Regions from separate parts of the Homo sapiens genome. Here all the other regions are linked to region 2. The links are contacts of gene promoters, found by promoter capture Hi-C in blood cells and fetal thymus (Javierre and others, 2016). All regions are on one chromosome and are shown on one strand. The core of a region is centred on a gene start or on the middle of the fragment in contact, and the rest is flanking DNA. Distances in the headings are between cores, read along the strand shown. Region 1 overlaps LOC105373436 (a long non-coding RNA gene). Region 2 holds the start of DDX1 (DEAD-box helicase 1). Region 3 overlaps GEN1 (GEN1 Holliday junction 5' flap endonuclease). Region 4 has its middle 3.3 kb from the start of MSGN1. Region 5 overlaps LOC105373436 (a long non-coding RNA gene).

Region 1 (3,498 bases), core at 545-3,044, 2.6 Mb after region 2:
TCCTTATCATTATTTTTTCTCTAATCTTGTCTGCCTACCTTATTTCAGCAAGATAGTCTTCAAGCTCTGATATCCCTTCTTCAGTTTGGTCTATTCGGCTATTGATATTTGTGTTTGCATTGTGAAGTTCTCACGTTGTGTTTTTCAGCTCCTTCAGGTTATCTATGTTCCTCTCTCAACTGGTTATTCTGGTTAACAACTCCTCTGATGTTTTATCATGGTTCTTAGCTTCTTTGCAATAAGTTAGAACGTACTCCTTTAGCTAAGTGAAGTACATTATTACCCATCTTATGAAGCCTACTTTTGTCAGTTCAACCATCTCAACCTCAGCCCAGTTCTGTGCCATTGAGGGAGATGTGTTGTGATCATTTGGAGAATAGGCACTCTGCCTTTTAGAGTTTTCAGCACTTTTACACTGATTCTTTCTCATCTTCTTGGGTTCATCTACCTTTGATCTTTGAGGCTGCTGACCTTTGGATGGAGTTTTTGTGGGGTCTTTTTCATTGATGTTGTTGTTGTTGTTGTTGCTTTCTCTTTGTTTTTCTTTTAGCGGTCAATGCCCTTTTCCATAGGGCTGCTGCAGTTTGCTGAGGGTCCACTCCAGACCCTGTTTTCCTGCGTCCCTCCTGCTCCTGAAAATATAACTAATAGAGGCTGCAGAACAGCAAAGATGGCAGCCTGCTCCTTCTTCTGGGAGCTCTGTCCCGGAGGGGCACAGACTTGATGCCAGCTGGAACGCTCCTGTATGAGGTGTCTGGAGACTCCTGTTGGGAGGTCTCACCCAGTCAGGAGGACAGGGATCAGGGACCTGCTTAAATAAGCAATCTGACTGCCCCTAGTTGGAGCAGGTGTGCTGCGCCATTGCCTGGGCTGCCCTGACTCTCCAGAGCCAGTAAGCAGGCAGATAAGACTAAGATTCATGATACTGCAGCTGCACCTCCTCCTAGGGGCTCCTCTCAGGGATATCAGAGTTTTGTTCATAAATGCCTGCCTGGGGATGCTGAATTTCCTGCAGGGAGGTCCCACCCAGTGAGGGGGAGTGGATCAGGGTCCTGCTTAAGGAAACAGTCCAGCCACGAACTGCCCCAGCCGCTGTGCTGCACTGTGGGGAATTGCTCCCAGTACAAACCGCGCTGGCGCTGGCGGCAGGGGAAAACAGCCGACTAGAGGCGCAGTGATGGTGGCTGTCCCTGCCCCCTGGGAAACTCGGGGTCTCAGTGCCTGCTCCAGCCGCCGCCTACCTGAGCAGCCGCCAAGAGTCTGCACTGCTCTATGCTTGGGAGCCAAGAATCCTGGTTGGTGTGGGCTCACAAGGGGACCGCCTGATTTGCAGGTTGCAAATCAGGAGGGATCTCCTCCAGCCAGATCTGTGGGAAAAGTGGGGTTTTCAGGGAGAAGGAGCAAAATCCCTCACCGCCTCCCTTGGCTGGAAGAAGGAGCTCCCTTTGCCTCGTGCAGCTCCCAGGTGAGCCCTTGCTCCACCCTCCTTTTCCTCGCTCTCCGTGGGTCGCCATAACCACTTGGTTCTCATGAGCGATCCTTGGTACCTCAACTGAAGATGCAGAATTCACTCACTGTTTTTATCCTTTTTGGTGGGAGCTGCAGAGCAAAGCCATTTCTATTCGGCCGTCTTGGCTGCTCCAACAATTTCTTTAAAATAGCATCCAAGAGAATAAGTTTAACAAAGGAAGTGCAAAGCTTATACTCTGAAAACTAAAAATATTGTTTGAAGTCATTAAAGGAAAACTAAATAAACGGAAATATATCCTATATTCATGGATGAGATGACTTAATAATTTTAAGACAGCAATACTCCTCAAATTCATCTATATGCTCAATGTAATTCCTATCAAAATCTTAGCTGAACTTTTGCAGAAATTGACAAGCTTATTCTAAAATTCATATATAAATTCAAGTGACCAAGAGTAGCCAAAACAATGTTGAAACAGAAGGACAAAGTAGGAGGATTCCACTTTGCTATTTCAAAACGTACCAAAAAGCTACAATAATAAAGACAGTGTAGCAGTGGCATCAGGATCAATATGCAGATCAACGGCAAAGCACTGAGGGTCCATAATTCACCCTTCCCATTTACAATCAATGGATTTTTGACAGCATATTCCACAGGGAAACAAGGAGAAAGTAGTATTTCCAGCACATGGTGCTGGGATAACTGGGTATCCACATACAAAAGAATGAAGTTGATACCTACTTCATACAACATGTAAAAACTAACTTAAAATGCATTAAAGAATTTAATAGAAGAGATAAAACTATAAACTCTCAGAAGAAAACATTGGGATATTTGTGACCTTGGATTAAGCAGTGGTTTCTTAGATGAAACATTTAAACGTTTATCCAAATTCCGAAGTAAGGAAACTGGTTACAGAGAACCATGTATTGTAGGATTCTGCTAATAGGAAACATCCAGAATAGGCAAATCTATAGATGCAAAGTATATTAGTAATTGAGGGAACACATCAAATTTTTAAAAATCCACTTAGGGCCTCGGCAGTTTAGTCGTGATAGAATTCTTATAGCTTGAGAACTGATAGAACCTGAGTAAATAATCAGATTTGTAAGAGGCACCAGTGGAAGTGAATAGCATAGTAACAGCCAGATCATTGCAGGCTGCTAGAGCTTCACCACTAGGATCAGAGGCACTGGCATCCCACAAAATCTGGTGAACTAGCAGCTGGATTTGACCTGAGACTAAATAATGAATTTTTCTGGTAAAAGACGATCTGGCAACTGGGTCCTATTGCAAGACTTTATCAGAGTCTGCATTTTTGACAAGTGGCAACAAAGAAACAATAAGAATGTCTGACGTATGGACAAGTATAGGCAAACTTAGGGATTCTCAGAAATATTGAGGGCATTGCGCTTTGGGAAAGAGACTAGAGTTTCTGTTAATTTGGCAAGATAGAACTAGTATCATTAGAGTATTAAAGAAAATGTGATATTGATACACACTGGCAGGGTCAGGAACATGGTGGTAACATATTATTTATAGTCTTCATATTAATCCTTCAATGTATATTATGTGCCTTTTACAATTTAAGAACGAGACTCATAGAGGTTAATACATTGCCCAAAGTAGTAGGCTAGTAAGTGAAGGTGTATGCATTTAAACTCATACTTATGAAGACAAAGTCTATTATCTTTTGACTGGACTAAGGAGTCCAGGCTGTTCTATAGGATCATTAATGTTTATGGATATTGAGGTCCTTGAAAAATCATTACAATCCTATGCCTTGGGCAAAATTTCAAAAGTTCTTCCTGTTACACATATCAGCAATACCCCAAGCATTCTTTAAAAATAGATGGTTCAAAATAACTATTTTATTAGACTCATTTATTACTGTAAAGTTCTTTTAATTTAGAATTCAATTATTCCAATGTGAGACCCAATTATTCATATTCAGTCTCCCTCAGAGTATGGGAATAAATACATACATTATTTGGTGTTTCATATTTAGAAGGATTGCAAGTGTTGCT
Region 2 (3,521 bases), core at 137-2,636:
GCAGTTTCCAATTGAATCCTATTAGAAGATGTAACTGAAACAGTCAGAAATCTTACATGACTGTTGCACTTTGGGAAGCCGAGGTGAGCGGATCACCTGAGGTCAGGAGTTCGAGACCAGCCTGGCCAACATGGTGAAACCCCCGTCTCTACTAATAATACAAAAATGAGCAGGGCATGGTGGTAGGCGCCTGTAATCCCAGCTACTCAGGAGGCTGAGGCAGGAGAATTGCTTGAACCTGGGAGGTGGAGGCTGCAGTGAGCCAAGATCACACCATTGCACTCCAGCTGGGGCGACAGAAGGAGACTACATCCCCCCACCCCCCCATTCTCCCCCCCAAAAAAGAAAAAAAATATCTTACATGACTGGAGATATGGAATTCCTAATATTCTTACAGAAGAAAACTAAAAAATATAAAATACTACATCTGAAGTCATCTTAAAAAGTTAATAACATTAAAGGACATTAGGCCTAACGTGATACATTTATATAGCAATAAACGTTACATAAGTGCTACATAAATGTATCACGTTTAGCGCATTTAAGGCTGATTACAGCTTCCTAAAACTGGATGCCTAACAGGAGGATGATAAAGCAAGAGGCGAAAATATCAACTGTAGGGTTCGATAAGCCATATCAAATCATATTTGGAATAAAGGAGGGTAGCAGACGGCAAATAAATATGAATTTTCCAAACTTATGTTGGACTGGTGCGTACGTTAATGAAAATGCTTTCCCTTTAGCTTCAACACTGAACATTAATGTTGATATAACAACGTTTAAGAACAAATAAAGATCAGGTTTATGCCTGGGACGTTTTGGAAGGGCCTGAAAAAACTGGACAGAGGCAGGATCGTCATTTTTCCCCAATGACTCCTCCCCACGCCGTCTCGCCTCTCTGCCTGGCCAAGCCCAGATGAGCCGCGGGCAGAAAAGGGTTCCCAAAGGGTCACTGCCACGTTAAGAGGCAGGAGGCCCAGGCGTCTGGGAGCCGCCAGAGCAACGCCGCCGCCTAGATTTTGCAGCCGAAGGTGCACTGGCAGGAAAGCCAAGTGGAGACTGGTAGAAGGGAAAGGGCAGGGGGAGGGACGTTCCGGCCCGCTCCTGGGAAGAATCGTCCTCCGAACCCGAGCCGCGGCCGCCCCTGATCCCGCAACGCGGGTCCATCAGGGACTGCAGCGGACAGCGCCCTTCTGTCTCCCTGACCCCTGTCCGCTCCCGCCCCTTTAGCTCTCCGCGGGCGGCCCCAGGGCTGAGGCGTGCAACAAGCCGCCCCACCACCCCCAGAGTTTCCACAAACGCACCGGAGAAGGCCGCCATCTTCACCCCGTCCTCCGCGGCTTCGCCTGCTCGCTCCCTCCCTCCCGACTGACACGGCGTGGCAGTGGCGGCGCGCGCTTCCGGCCCCTGGTCTTCGGCGTTCGGAGTCCGGGCAGGGACTCAGCCCCGGGAGAACGGTTCCGATGGAAGGAAAGGCCCGCGCCGGCCCCGCCTTATGCGCCTGCCGCTGAGCGGACCTCTGGGACCTAGGGCTTCTGGACGCCGCCTTCGTTCTGGGCACCATGTGTTCGGAGCACACCACGCGGTATCAGGGTCACAGCTACAGAGAAGGAAGCAGATGTTTGGTGATTAGGGTCATCCAGTGGGCTCAGGCTGACACCACACCGTGCCCTCCCCACTCAGTCCCCCAGCTTTCCAAAGGTGAGCAGGGCCTTGGTGTGTGAATGACCCGGAGAGATGGACTGGATTCATTGCCCTGAGCACCAATGCCAGTGAGTGCCTGGCAGCCAGTAGGTATTTGTTACATTTTTTTTTTAAACTAAGTAATGATTTAGGTCTCCCTCCCTTCACCCATGTTTGATGTCGCTTTTATAATTTCGGGTTTGACTTCCATGCAATTTTAACTCCTTTCTCTTTGCAGAGAGATGGGGAAAGTAAATGAGGAATCCTCCCAACCAGACACTCACTCTGTCAGGAAGGTATTAGAATCTTTAGATGAGGACTCTAAAATTCGGGAAAGTTAAGTCACTTATCTAAAGACACATATCTACCGAATGGCAGCGTGGGATCTGAGCCACATCTGCGCAATGCGAGGGCGCGTGCTGTGCTATCTGTAGCCTGCCCCAGAGTGTCATGGAGAAAAGTGGAACCCTCAGGCAAGATAGAATAGGGTTGCAGCGGCCGGGCGCGGGGGCTCACGCCTGTAATCCCAGCACTTTGGGAGGCCGAGGCAGGCGGATCACGAAGTCAGGAGGTCGAGACCATCCTAGCTAACACGGTGAAACCCCTTCTCTACAAAAAATACACACACACACACACACACACACACACACAGAAGAAGCCGGGTGTGGTGGTGCATGCCTGTAGTCCCAGCTACTCGGGAGGCTGAGGCAGGAGAATCGCTTGAACCCAGGAGGCGAAGGTTGCAGTGAGCCGAGATCGCGCCACTGCACTCCAGCCTGGGTGACCGAGCGAGACTCCGTCTCAAAAAAAAAAAAAAAGAAAAAAGAATAGGGTTGCAGCTACTCCGGAGGCTGAGGCATGAGAATCACATGAACCTGGGAGGCGAAAGCTGCAGTGAGCTGAGATCGTGCCACTACACTCTAGCCTGGGCGACAGAGGGAGAGTCTGTCTCAAAAAAATAAAAAATAAAAAAGATAGAATAGGGTTAGAAGTACAGAGTTGGGAACCATATTCTGAGTTTGGATTCTAGGTCTGCCACTTGCTTGCTGTGTGACCTTGAACAAGTCATGAAGCTTCTTTGGGCTTCAGTTTACTTACCTGTGAAATAGGGATGAACAATAGTACCTTTCTCATATGATAGTTATGAGGATCAAATAAAATACATAAAGCATCTAAAATAGTGCATAGCACATGGTGACAATATAACTAGCTCTGTTATTACTATTACATGTAACAGGATTCACCTGAAGCTCCAAAGGCCCAGGACAATACACTCAGCCCTGCAGCTTTACACTTCCAGGGGGCACTATTCACATTATATTCTCTATTCTTGTTATATTTTGTCTAAATAAGACCCTGAGAGTTATGCAGTGTACCAGTTTTGAATGGATACCAAGTACCCCCACATTCCAAGGAGAGATACAAGACCCATATTATGCAGGACTTGCCAAAGGGAAATCTGAAATCTAATTTTTGTGCCTTTTGCCAATGCCCACCTTTAAAGTGTGAAAAATCGGCTGGGCATGATGGCTCATGTCTATAATCCCAACACCTTGGGAGGCTGAGGCAAGGGGATCACTTGAGCCCAGAAGTTCAAGACCAGCCTGGGCAACATAATGAGACCCCCATCTCCAAAAAAAATTAAAAAATAGTTGGGCATGGTGCACACCTGTAGTCTCAGCTACTTGGGAGGCTGAGGTGGGAGGATCTCTTGAGCCTAGGAGGTGGAGGCTGCAGTGAGCTATGATGGTGTCACTGTACTCCAGCCTGGGTGGCAGAGCAAGACCCTGTCTCAAGGAAGAGATAAAGTATGAAAAAATTAAAGATGCAAATTAAGA
Region 3 (3,735 bases), core at 1,067-3,566, 2.2 Mb before region 2:
TAATGATTTCAAGGTTGTAAATTATTTTTACTCGGTACTTTGAAACATCACTCCAGCATCTTCTGGCATCTATTACGGTTATGAAAGATGTGTGCTATCAGATAGCTGATCTTTTTTCTTTTATACTTCCCAGCAAACTGTTTATTCTGAAAAATTTCAAACCTTTATAAAAGTTGCAAAAATAGTACAATGAATACTCACATACTTTTACTGAGATTCATCAATTGTTAACATTTTATCACATTTGCTTTCTCCATTTGCAAGTTAGTTGCAAACATGTCTCATGGCACATCACCCCTAAATACTGCAGCCTGTCTATGTAGAGTATTTTCCTACATTGCCACAAAAAACTTTCACACTCTGGAAGTTTAACAATGATACAATATAGACCATATTCAAATTTCCCCAATTGTCCTAAAAAAAAGGTCCTTTATGACTTAAAAACAATTCAGAATTCAATCAGGATCATTTTTCTTGAATTGTGTTGTCTCTTTATTTTAATCCAGAAAACTACCTAGATATTTTTTATTTTTGAAGAGTCCAGGATAATAGCTCCACAGAACGTTTTTCACTTGGATTCATTAGATTGTTTCCTCATGATTAGATACAGATTAAACTTTCCTTTTTTTTTTTTTTTTTTTTTGAGACAGGGTCTCACTCTGTCACCAAGTTTGGAGTGCAGTGGTATGAACTCAGCTCACTGCAACCTCCACCTCCCAGGCTCAAGCAATCCTCCCAACTCAGCCTTCCAAGTAGCTGGGATCACAGGTGCTCTCCACCACGCCTGGCTAATTTTTTGTATTTTTGGAAGAGATGGGTCTTGAACTCCTGAGCTCAGTCGATCCACCGGCCTCAGTCTCCCAAAATGCTGCTGGGATTACAGGTGCGAGCCACCACGCCCCACCTAGCTCAAGCTTTTTTGGCAAAAATATTATATGATAATGTAGTATCTTTCTCAGTTTAACGTATTAGAAAGCATATGAAAGCAGTCTATTGTTCTTTTATTGGTAATTAATCACTGAGTTAAACTGATGTCCACTGGATTTCTCCACTTTTGAAGATACCATTTTTCCTTTGTAATTAATCTGTAGAGCGGTACTTGAGACTGTGACTATCCTTTCTCTGCAGCAATCTTTCATCTAATGGTTTTAACATCCATTGATGATTGTTGCCTGATTGGTTTGGTACTTTTTAAAATATTCCTTTTATCGTTGATGTCTACAATATGCCTTGGGTATTTCATGTATTGCGACTATAATTTGTAGTATAACTATCTGTCTTAAATTTTGGAAAACTCTCAGACATCATCTCTTCAAAAATTACTTTTCAACCTTTTCTTTTATTAGCTTCTAGGAACTAATCCAAAACTACTCTTAAGCATTTTTTATATGAGAGTCTTTGAGATCATTTCTGTGTGACTTGATTTGTCTTCCAAATCACTAATTTTTTTGGACCAAGTTTAGCCTAGAGACCCCTTGATTGCTTTTTATTTCAACAACTATTTTTAAGCTAATAGTTCACTTTTTATATCCATCCATTTACACACATTTTTATAATTTTGCCTTCTGTTGCTTACAGACATATGTCTTCATCTTTTTGAGGATTCTAGCATTCTGAAAGGCCAACCACACCCACCCCTTGCATAAAACCTGTCAGACTGTTTTAAAACTTAATTTAATCCGAAGTGAATTCATGACGCAATTGTTGATTTTAAAAATATTATATTTCTTTATATGTTAAGCTTTCTTCTTCAATTCTTTTATATTTTATCTGTCTTCACTTCTATCTCTCTAGTCTCTTTGAGTAATTTCCAGTGGGCTTTCTGGGCTTCAGGCAGCATTTGGTTAGTTTTTTATTATCTACCCCAGCCTCTAATCTCCTGATAGGAACAGAGAAATTCCACCCTAGCTACTGGGTTTCAAGAAATAAGCCTGACTCCATCAACATCTTGCACTTTTGGTCCCCATTTTTTTTTTTTTCTCTGAAGCGATTTACCTCCTGGATGATACGGCTGCTTCTAGATTTAAGGCTCTGCAAAACCAGTTTTAGTTCCCACATTCCCTTAACACGTTTGTTCCTTTTCTGGTCCACTGAAATAGTTGTCTTATAAAGCCTGGCTATATCCTTTTATGCTTGTTTCTTTTTATAATCTATTATTACTATGTGTTTGAAGTAGAAAAGTATGATAAAGCATGACTTACTATGTTGTTCTGATTATAAGCCCTGAATAAGCTTTTAATATTCCAGGAGGCCTTTCCTCCACCTTTACAAAAACGAGCTTAAAGATATTAGGAATATTTTAATTATAAAATACTCAAGTAAAAACACCACCTTCACCATACAGTTCTTTACATTACCGAATTGGCTGTAGTTGATTAGAGTTTCTGCTACCAAGCTTTCTTTCTATCATGTCATAATGGGTCAAAAGTACCAGCAATTTCTCACATGCATAGTGATTGGGCCACTCCATTTTTTCAAGAGTAAATCTCTATAAATATAATAAAAATAAAACAAGATTTTGTTATCTCTTGGAGACAAATAGCACTCCTAGGTGATATTAATATTTTTTCCTTTAGAATTAACGTAAGTTAAAGTAGTATCAATGAGAATATTCTAGAAACAATGAGCCTCCTAAGGAAGAATCATTATTGCATAATGATTAAGAGTGAAGGCTCTCGGTTTGAACGCCAGGATGATATTTCTTAGATGTTGGGTAACTTACTTAAACTCTCTTAGCCTCAGTTTTACCATCTGTAATGTGAAAATATTACAACCCACTTCACAGATTACAAAGATTGAGATTACATGCAATGCATTAAACATAACAGCAAATTTAAATGTCTAACAAATGTTGGCTGTCATTATTAATGTGGCTGTCGTTCTTAATGTGGCTGTCATTACTTACAGCTGGTACTTGTAAGTACCCAGTTGTTGCAATTTATTGAGCCACTCCGTGTCCCTAGCCACTATATTAGGAGTTAATATAAATAATCTCATTTAATCCTCATGGTGACTTTATGAGATAAGTAATATTATTTCTGTTTTGAGAATAACACACATCCAGGGTCACACAGTAGGTGGAATACGGTCCAAATTTAAATTTAGGTCATTAATTTCAGATATCAATGTTTTTGTAAATGATACTACCTTCCATAATTATATACTTGATCTTAACATTCTCTTGTTATTAAACCCTCTTCCCCCAAAATATCCATGGATGCAATATATCCACATATGCTAATTAAGGCATCTTCTAAAACAGCATAACTATACTTTGTCTTATAGTGTGCAAAGATGGCCACTGTATGGCAAATGAGAGAGTAGAAATAAATGCTGAAAAAATATAAGAGCTGCCTGTTTTAATTTTAAACCTCCTCTAAGACCAATCAGAGTGAATATCTGTTCCTATCTTTCCAGCATATAACTTCATACAGTAAAGAAGAATTTATTTTCAGATACCTGAAACAATAACAAATCAGGTCTTTGGTACCTGATAACCTTCACCAATTTATCCTTGTTTAAAAGGAATTCTTGAATAACCTAGCAAGAAAAAAGAAAATAGAAACTGAGATTTAAACTTTTAAGAAAGTTTCTAAAATTAATAGAGTTGAATTACTGGATATTACCTCATGGAATGGGAATCCCTCACAACAGCAAGCTTTCCTGAAAAAAAAATTATATACATGTTATTACTATAATCAGACAATTTTAGACTCTGAAATCATCTCAGCCAAT
Region 4 (3,976 bases), core at 872-3,371, 2.2 Mb before region 2:
TACTGAAGAACCCCAAGCCGGATTTTGAAAAATAATAATATTAATGACTGTAATAAATGTAACAAATGACTCTTGCTCCTTTTTCCTCTCTCTTCTCTCTTCCAATTCTTGTTGAGAAGCCCAGAATCTGCTGATACTATGCAAGGAATTTTATATATTTTTTAATTTTTCTTATTTCAATAGCTTTTGGGGTAAAATGTTTTTTTGTTACATGGGTGGGTTGTATAGTGGTGAAATCTGAGATTTTAGTGCTCATGTCAACTGAGTAGTGTACATTGTACCCAATATGTAGTTTTTTATATCCCTCACTCTCCTCCCACCCTCCCCCTTCTGAGTCTCCAAAATCCATTATACCACTCTGCATGCCTTTGCATGCCCATAGCTTAGCTCTCATTTATAAGTAAGAACATATGGTATTTGATTTTTCCATTCCAGAGTAACTTCACTTAGAATAATGGCCTCCAGCTTCATCCAAGTTGCTGTAAAAGACATTATTTCATTGGCTTTTTTTTATGGCTGAGTAGTATTCCATGGTGTATATATATCACATTTTCTTTATCCACTCGTTGGTTGATGGGCACTTAGTTGGTTCCGTATCTTTGCAATTGTGAATTGTGTTGAAGTAAACATATGCGTGTAGGTGTCTTTTTGATAGAATGACTTCTTTTCCTTTGGGTAGATACCCAGTAGTGGGATTGCTGGATCAAATAGTAGGTCTACTTTTAGTTCTTTAAGAAATCCCCATCCTGTTTTCCATAGAGGTTGTGCTACTTTTCATTCCCACCAGCAGTATGTAAGTGTTCCCTTTTTACCACATCCATGCCAACATTTGGGTTTTTTTTTTTACTTTGTTTATTACAAACCTATTCTGGCTGGGGCAAGGCAGTATCTCGTTGTGGTTTCAATTTGCATTTCCCTGATAACTAGTGAGGTTGAGCATTTTTTCATGTTTGTTGGACATTTGGATATCTTCTTTTGAGAAATGTCTATTCATGTCATGTGCCCACTTTTTGATGAAATTATTTGTTTGTTTCTTGCTGATTTGTGTGAGTTCAAGGAACTTATATGATTAAGCTTCTTTTTAAAAAAGACAAAAAACAAAAAGACCAACATGTTATGGATGAAAATACTGAGACTCTCAGATGTGAAGAAACTCAGTTAAGATTTCCCGGGTAGGAAGTGGTAGAGTCACTAGGGAGTGGTAGAGCAAAGATTCCTTGTCAGACCCCAAAGCTCACTTTCTTTTTTTAAAATCTATTTTCACTCTTTCATGGGTTGTGGTAGAGGCAGATGGCCTGAGTGTGACTCAGAGAGGGAACTCCCAGGGGACACAAGGCAGCTGTGGGGGCCGCTGCCATGGCAGACTCTCGATCCTTGTGTTCTAACTTCACAGTTTTCCACGTAACACTGCTTCTGCTCTCAGACTCCATAACTCTTTTTTCCCTTTCCCACAGCTTCTTTCTAAAACTGCTAATTTCTTGAACTTCCATTTTTAGAAATTTCGTTTCCTAAATGAGACAATATCTGTCAAATCCTTAGTGCACTGTAGACACTTAATAAATGTAGTTCTTGTCATTATTGTTATTGACTGAGTGTTGTCAAACCCACCAGCAACAGAATGACTTACCGAGCTGTGACTCTTCTGCTCCTGACCCCAGTTTCCCAGCCTTCTTGGCCCCTGAAACTATTCTTGGAGAAAGGAAGCTGCCTGGTTTTCATGTTTCTTGATGTGCACTCTCTCTTTGGTAAGAAATAAAGCAGAACCAGACTTGCATCTATCTGAGAAGCATTCTGTGCTCAATCTGAGGGAAATAAAAGTCAAGGACAATGTAACACTGCAGTACAGACATTCGAAGGCTATAGTTAGGCAGACACTAGCTGGTGCTTTTCTGTCTCCAGTTTGAACAAAGCAACAGAACACTGGATAAGGCTAGACCAGACAGGCAAAATTTACACTGGACCCAGTAAAATCTGGCTGAGAGCATGGTGTTGTGGAAGGATGAGACAGAACTTGCCTCCTTTAGAGCAAGTGACTCACCCCTCACAGCCTAAGTATTTTAGTGCGTAAAAGGAGGTAATAACACTTTTCCTGTGTTCTTCTTCTTCTTCTTTTTTTTTTTTTTTTTTGACGCAGGGCCCAGGCTGTAGTGAAGTGGCACCATCTAGGCTCACTGCAACCTCTGCCTCCTAGATTCAAGTGGTTCTCATGCCTCAGTCTCCCAAGTAGCTGGAACTACAGGTGTGTGCCACCATGCTCAGCTAACTTTTGTATTTTTAGTAGAGACAAGGTTTCACCACGTTGGCCAGGCTGGTCCTAAACTCATGGCCTCAAGTAATCCACCCGCCTCCACCTCCCAAAGTGCTGGGATTATAGTAAGCCATCGTGCCCAGCCTGCTCTGTCTTCTTTATCAAGAGCATTCATTACATGAGGAGGGTGTACCAAGGGATCATTAAACTCCCGTCTAGCTACAAAATGCCATGAAACATGTTACTACCATGTGAATATGCTTGGTTAAAAGAGCACTGTACCAGCATGAAGGCATTTGGGGATATCATTGAGTCCATCATTTCTTTAAATCTGCATTCTACACATGGTGAATGACTTGCTCAATGTCATACCCAAAGGCTGTGGCAGAGATGGAAAGAGAAAAGCCAAAGTTGCCTGCCTCCCATATCTGTCCTTTTTCTTCCTTTGAAACTAATAGGACTAATTGCAAAGTATTCACATCAGGCAGACTACGTATTTCCCACATTACTGATTTATTGGGATAAATATTTTACTTCAAATGTCATTCAAGCAACAGATATTTATAAGCTATTGTGACTATGACTGTGACAGATTGAAAAGAGGCCCCCAACCTTGAGGCCCACTCTCAAGAGACCTTGAAAAATGTTCAGGTCCTATTTTCCAAAGTATAAGACAAAGGTACAGGTTGTTTCATCTCTCAAATCCCAGGCCTTCATATTGACCTTTTTATTGTAGCTACACTCACTAAGGAGGATCCCAGATTTGCCATACATATTAATAAGTGGTCTGTGTCTAATTTTCAGAATGATGAGCTTCTGAGGGAATGCTGGTCATGTTCCTGACAACAGTCAGGACAACTGGGCATTTCACACTGGCCTCAGAGGATTGTAAACTCTACATTTAAGAGCCAGGAAGCTTTCTTGAGGCAGAGCCACTTCCAGGAAATTGGCAAATAGTGCTCAAAGGATAGACAGAAAACAGAAATCAAGAGGCTGATGGAATTCCTTAAGCTGTGGCCACCGGTGGTTCCATGCCATTACCAGCCCATACGGCTCCTTTGTGCAAATTACAAAACAACCAAGCTAAGGCTTATTTCAGCCCTGCTTGCCTCTTCAGCCCAGCACCTTTGTGCAGGGTGCACCCTCCTCAAGCAGTGGCCCTGGGAGCCCCTGTGATGTGCCTCCTCTGCAATGTTAGCATTTTTAGTACTTTGGTGGCTGTTTGAACATCGGTGAACAGATAGAACATGGGGGTAGTGGCAAGAGTGCAGGAATAGGAGCCAGGTCAAACCTGTCACATCTTACATTTCCTCCTCTGTTATTGTGACCTGGGACACATGAATCAATCTTTCTCAGCTTCAGCTTCATCTTCATCTGTGCAATTGAAATACTAATACTTGCCTTATAGAGTACACGCTTTTAGCAGGTTTACACATTGTAAACTGTAAGTGTGGTAACTAATGTTGCTGTAATTATTAATCTTGTGCTGGGGCAGGGTGCTGTAGCTCATGCTTGTAATCCCAGCACTTTGGGAGGCCAAGGTGGGTGGATCACGAGGTCAGGAGATCGAGAGCATCCTGGCCAACATGGTGAAACCCCGTCTCTACTAAAAATACAAAATTAGCTCGGTGTGGTGGCATGTGCCTGTAATCCCAGCTACTTGGGAGGCTGAGGCAGGAGAATCACTTGAACCTGGGAGGCGGAGATTGCAGTGAGCCGAGATCGTGC
Region 5 (3,485 bases), core at 862-3,361, 2.5 Mb after region 2:
AAAACATTGAAGAAATGGTTCAGGACACTGCTCTAGACTATGACTTTTTGTGTAAGACATCTAAAGTACAGACAACAAAAGCAAAGATAGACAAATTGGATTACATTAGGCTAAAAAGCTTCTGCACAGCAAAGATAACATCATCAGAGTAAAGAGATAACTTACAGAATGGAAAAAAATATTTCCAAATTATCCATCTGAGAAGGGATTAATAACCACAATAGAGAAGAAACTCAAACAAACAAACACAAAAAAACAAATAATCCAATTAAAAAATCGGCAAAGGATCTGAAAAAACATTTCTCAAAAGAAGACATACAAATAATCAACAGGTGTATGAAAGATACTCGACCTCACTAATCATCAGGAAAGGGCAAATCAAAACCACAATGAGATATCATCTCATCCCATTAGGAATGGCTATTACTAAAAAGACAAAAAAAATCAGAAGCTGGTGAGAATGTGAGTAAAGATTAACTCTCATACACTGATGATGGGAATGTAAATTAGTATAGCCACTATGGAAAGCAGTATGAGGTTCCTCAAAAAACTAAAAATAAAACTGCCATATGATCCAGCAATCCCACTGCTGAGTATATATTAAAAATAAAGGAAATTGGCATATAGAAGCTATACTTATACTTCCATGTCTATAACAGCACTATTCACAATAGCCAAAATTCAACCTAGGTGTCCACAAATGAATGCATGGATAACGAAAATATAGTACATACACAATAGAAAATTATTCAGCCATAGAAAGAATGAAATTCTGTCATTTTCAGCAACATAGTTGCAATTGGAGTCATTATTTAAGTGAAATACACCAGTCACAGAATGACAAATATCACATGTTATCACTCACTTGTAGGAGCTCAAAAAGTAAATCTCATGGAGGTAGGCAGTAAAATGGTGGCTACCAAAGACTGTGAAGGGTATGAGGCAAGTGGGGCAATGAAGAGAGGGTACAAAAATGCAGTTAAATTGAAAGAATAAGTTCTAGTGTTTGATATCACAGTAGGATAACTATAATTAATAATAATTTATATTTCATAGTAGCTAGTAGAAAAATTTGGAATGTTCCCAAGACAAAGAAATGATACATATTTGAGGTGACGAATATCCCATTTATCCTGATTGCTACACATTGTATGCTTGTATCATAATATCACGTGTACTCCAGAAAAATGTACAATCATTACGTATCAGTTTTAAAAATTAAGAAAAAAATGCAGAGTAGTTCTATCACCACAGGTATCTCTATAATTTTGTCATTTCAAGGATATTATATAAATGGAATCATACAGTATATCATTTTCTGGGAGTGACTTTTTCACTCAGCTTAATTTTCTAGAGACTCATAAAAGTTGCCGCATGTATCAACAGTACAATTTGTTTTCATTTCTGAGTAGTATTCCATTGCGTGGCTGCACCATGCAATGTGCATAGGGGTCATCTCTAGTGTTTGGTTGTTATGATAAAGCTACTTTGAACATTTGTGTATAGGCTTTCATGTGAGCATAACTTGGAATTCCTCTGGGATAAATACCCGAAAGTGCAATAGTGGGACATATGATAATTACATATTTAGTCCTCTAAAACACTGCCAAACTGTTTTCCAGTGACTGTGCTCTCCGCCAGCTCTGTGTAAGGCTTTAGTTTCTCCACCTTCTCAGCAGCATTTTGTTTTGTCATATTTTTATTTCAGCTATTCTGATAGACGTGTAATGATATATATTTGTAGTTTTCAAAACAATTATAAGATAAATTACAATCTCAATTTTACCAAAAGAAATGAAAGATGGGCCCTTTTATTGTCACTTTTAGCCAGGTTAATTCCATTTGACATAGTAAATCCACTTCCTGGAATCTACCCTACTAGTAAGGAGACAGTTCCCTCATTCTCACTCCAAAATCAAATCCTCTCCTGATTATTTAGTGTTCCAGGACAGTTTGCCAATACTTAAGGACGACACACGTCGTGGGAATGTCAGCCTCCTCGTATTCTGGACAGTTCTTATTTTTTAGTGCAAATATATAAATTGGCATTCTTGTCCATAGGTCAGTATCCTCGGGTAAGTCCATCTGAAGCAGTCCTGAAGATAGATTTGAACTGGGTTTACTGACAAGTCAGTTTCTAATAACCCATCATCACAAAAGCAAGACCCAGGGCCTTGGAAGAGTTTTCTAAAATAATAATACTCAGAGCAAAGCCATGGCAACCAGCCCCTCTCATGGGGACTGCTCAACATCCCTGCAGGCAATGTATTGGCACCTTCTGCAGTAACTATTCAATTTTACAGGTGAATCTTTCATACAGAGAAACTTGATAGCCATAGATATCATCTCAGAGTCTGGATTTTTTAAAACGGAAAATCTTCTTTCTTGAGACTAATACCACTCAGATTTAATTTCTAAAAATGTTTATGATCCCAGCAGGTATAAAATTAATGAGCTGAAGAGAGAGATTAACAGCAGAGTCTAAGTTAATTCTCTCTGAGCAGGAAGTATGAAGATTTACTTATTTTCTTTTTTTTACTATACTTTAAGTTTTAGGGTACATGTGCACAACATGCAGGTTTGTTACATATGCATACATGTGCCGTGTTGATGTACTGCACCCATTAACTCATCATTTACATTAGGTATATCTCCTAATGCTATCCCTCACCCCTACCCCCACTACACAACAGGCCCCAGTGTGTGATGTTCCCCTTCCTGTGTCCATGTGTTCTCTTTGTTCAGTTCCCACCTGTGAGTGAGAACATGCAGTGTTTGGTTTTTTGTCCTTGTGATAGTTTGCTGAGAATGATGGTTTCCAGCTTCATCCATGTCCCTACAGAGGACAAAGATTGAATGAAAAAATTTTAAAAGTACTTCAGAACTTTCTTCTCCTTTCTCTCTCTTTCATACATCCACATAGACATATACACATAGAAGTAGATTAAATATCATATTATTCCTACTGGAATTAATAGAAGCCAATGGACAATTTCTTATCTTGAGTATCAAATATATCCAACCATATTTGCCAAAATTCGATTTAAAAAATATAATTGTGTGTCTATGAATAAATGAAGAAGACAAAGAAGAAATGTTTCATTGCCGCTTCTCTTTGTGTTATTAATAAAATCTCTTATAATCCTTGGAATAATCTTTGGAAGTTACACAATAATTGTTTCCAAAACACTTAAAGTAGGATTCATCAGATGATAAATTCTTTATTTTTGATGCCTATGTGTCTTATTGTTTCTATACCTCATTCATTAAAAGCATAATAATTAATGCTAATGTTTTGTGTTTGTCAAACACCTTTTTTAGGTGTTTTCAAAATAACAGGCTTCATGTGCATTAGTCCTTTAAACCCCTATAATCCTATATCTTAGTTACTAAAATGAACCTTTCTGAGGAATGATTACTGTTCACATAACTTGTCTAAAGTCTTACAGCCAGAAGGGGTGGAGACAGAATCCAAACCCAGTCTC

The links. The method cuts DNA at HindIII sites, captures the fragments that hold promoters and counts their contacts. A CHiCAGO score of 5 or more calls a contact.
Region 1: a fragment that was not itself captured here is called in contact with the fragment with the promoter of DDX1 in region 2 in 2 of 17 cell types (endothelial precursors and M2 macrophages); the score reaches 18.9 in endothelial precursors.
Region 3: a contact is called between a fragment that was not itself captured here and the fragment with the promoter of DDX1 in region 2, in 1 of 17 cell types (total B cells). The highest score is 5.2, in total B cells.
Region 4: a contact is called between a fragment that was not itself captured here and the fragment with the promoter of DDX1 in region 2, in 1 of 17 cell types (total B cells). The highest score is 8.5, in total B cells.
Region 5: a fragment that was not itself captured here is called in contact with the fragment with the promoter of DDX1 in region 2 in 1 of 17 cell types (endothelial precursors); the score reaches 6.6 in endothelial precursors.

The regions. Positions count from the first base shown.
Region 1 is chr2:13,037,935-13,041,432 of GRCh38, reverse strand. The region is part of intron 1 of LOC105373436 (a long non-coding RNA gene); the gene reads right to left. Among named protein-coding and RNA genes, the nearest start is that of MIR3125, 300 kb to the right of the region's middle. The HindIII fragment of the contact is 188 bases long and covers 1,701-1,888 here.
Region 2 is chr2:15,589,733-15,593,253 of GRCh38, reverse strand. DDX1 (DEAD-box helicase 1) reads right to left here and starts at 1,386. Exons shown (of 26, transcript NM_004939.3): 1 at 1,305-1,386. The coding sequence starts at 1,320. LOC124905975 (a long non-coding RNA gene) reads left to right here and starts at 1,485. Exons shown (of 2, transcript XR_007086224.1): 1 at 1,485-1,794; 2 at 1,922-3,521. RefSeq lists an enhancer at 1,288-1,347. The HindIII fragment of the contact is 5,190 bases long and covers 1-2,758 here.
Region 3 is chr2:17,773,024-17,776,758 of GRCh38, reverse strand. It overlaps GEN1 (GEN1 Holliday junction 5' flap endonuclease), which reads right to left. Exons shown (of 14, transcript NM_001130009.3): 9 at 3,627-3,663; 10 at 3,460-3,540; 11 at 2,358-2,488. All of the region lies in intron 3 of LOC105373449 (a long non-coding RNA gene), which reads left to right. Among named protein-coding and RNA genes, the nearest start is that of GEN1, 21 kb to the right of the region's middle. The HindIII fragment of the contact is 163 bases long and covers 2,235-2,397 here.
Region 4 is chr2:17,811,193-17,815,168 of GRCh38, reverse strand. No RefSeq gene overlaps it. Among named protein-coding and RNA genes, the nearest start is that of MSGN1, 3.3 kb to the left of the region's middle. The HindIII fragment of the contact is 2,090 bases long and covers 1,077-3,166 here.
Region 5 is chr2:13,060,300-13,063,784 of GRCh38, reverse strand. All of the region lies in intron 1 of LOC105373436 (a long non-coding RNA gene), which reads right to left. Among named protein-coding and RNA genes, the nearest start is that of MIR3125, 320 kb to the right of the region's middle. The HindIII fragment of the contact is 3,982 bases long and covers 121-3,485 here.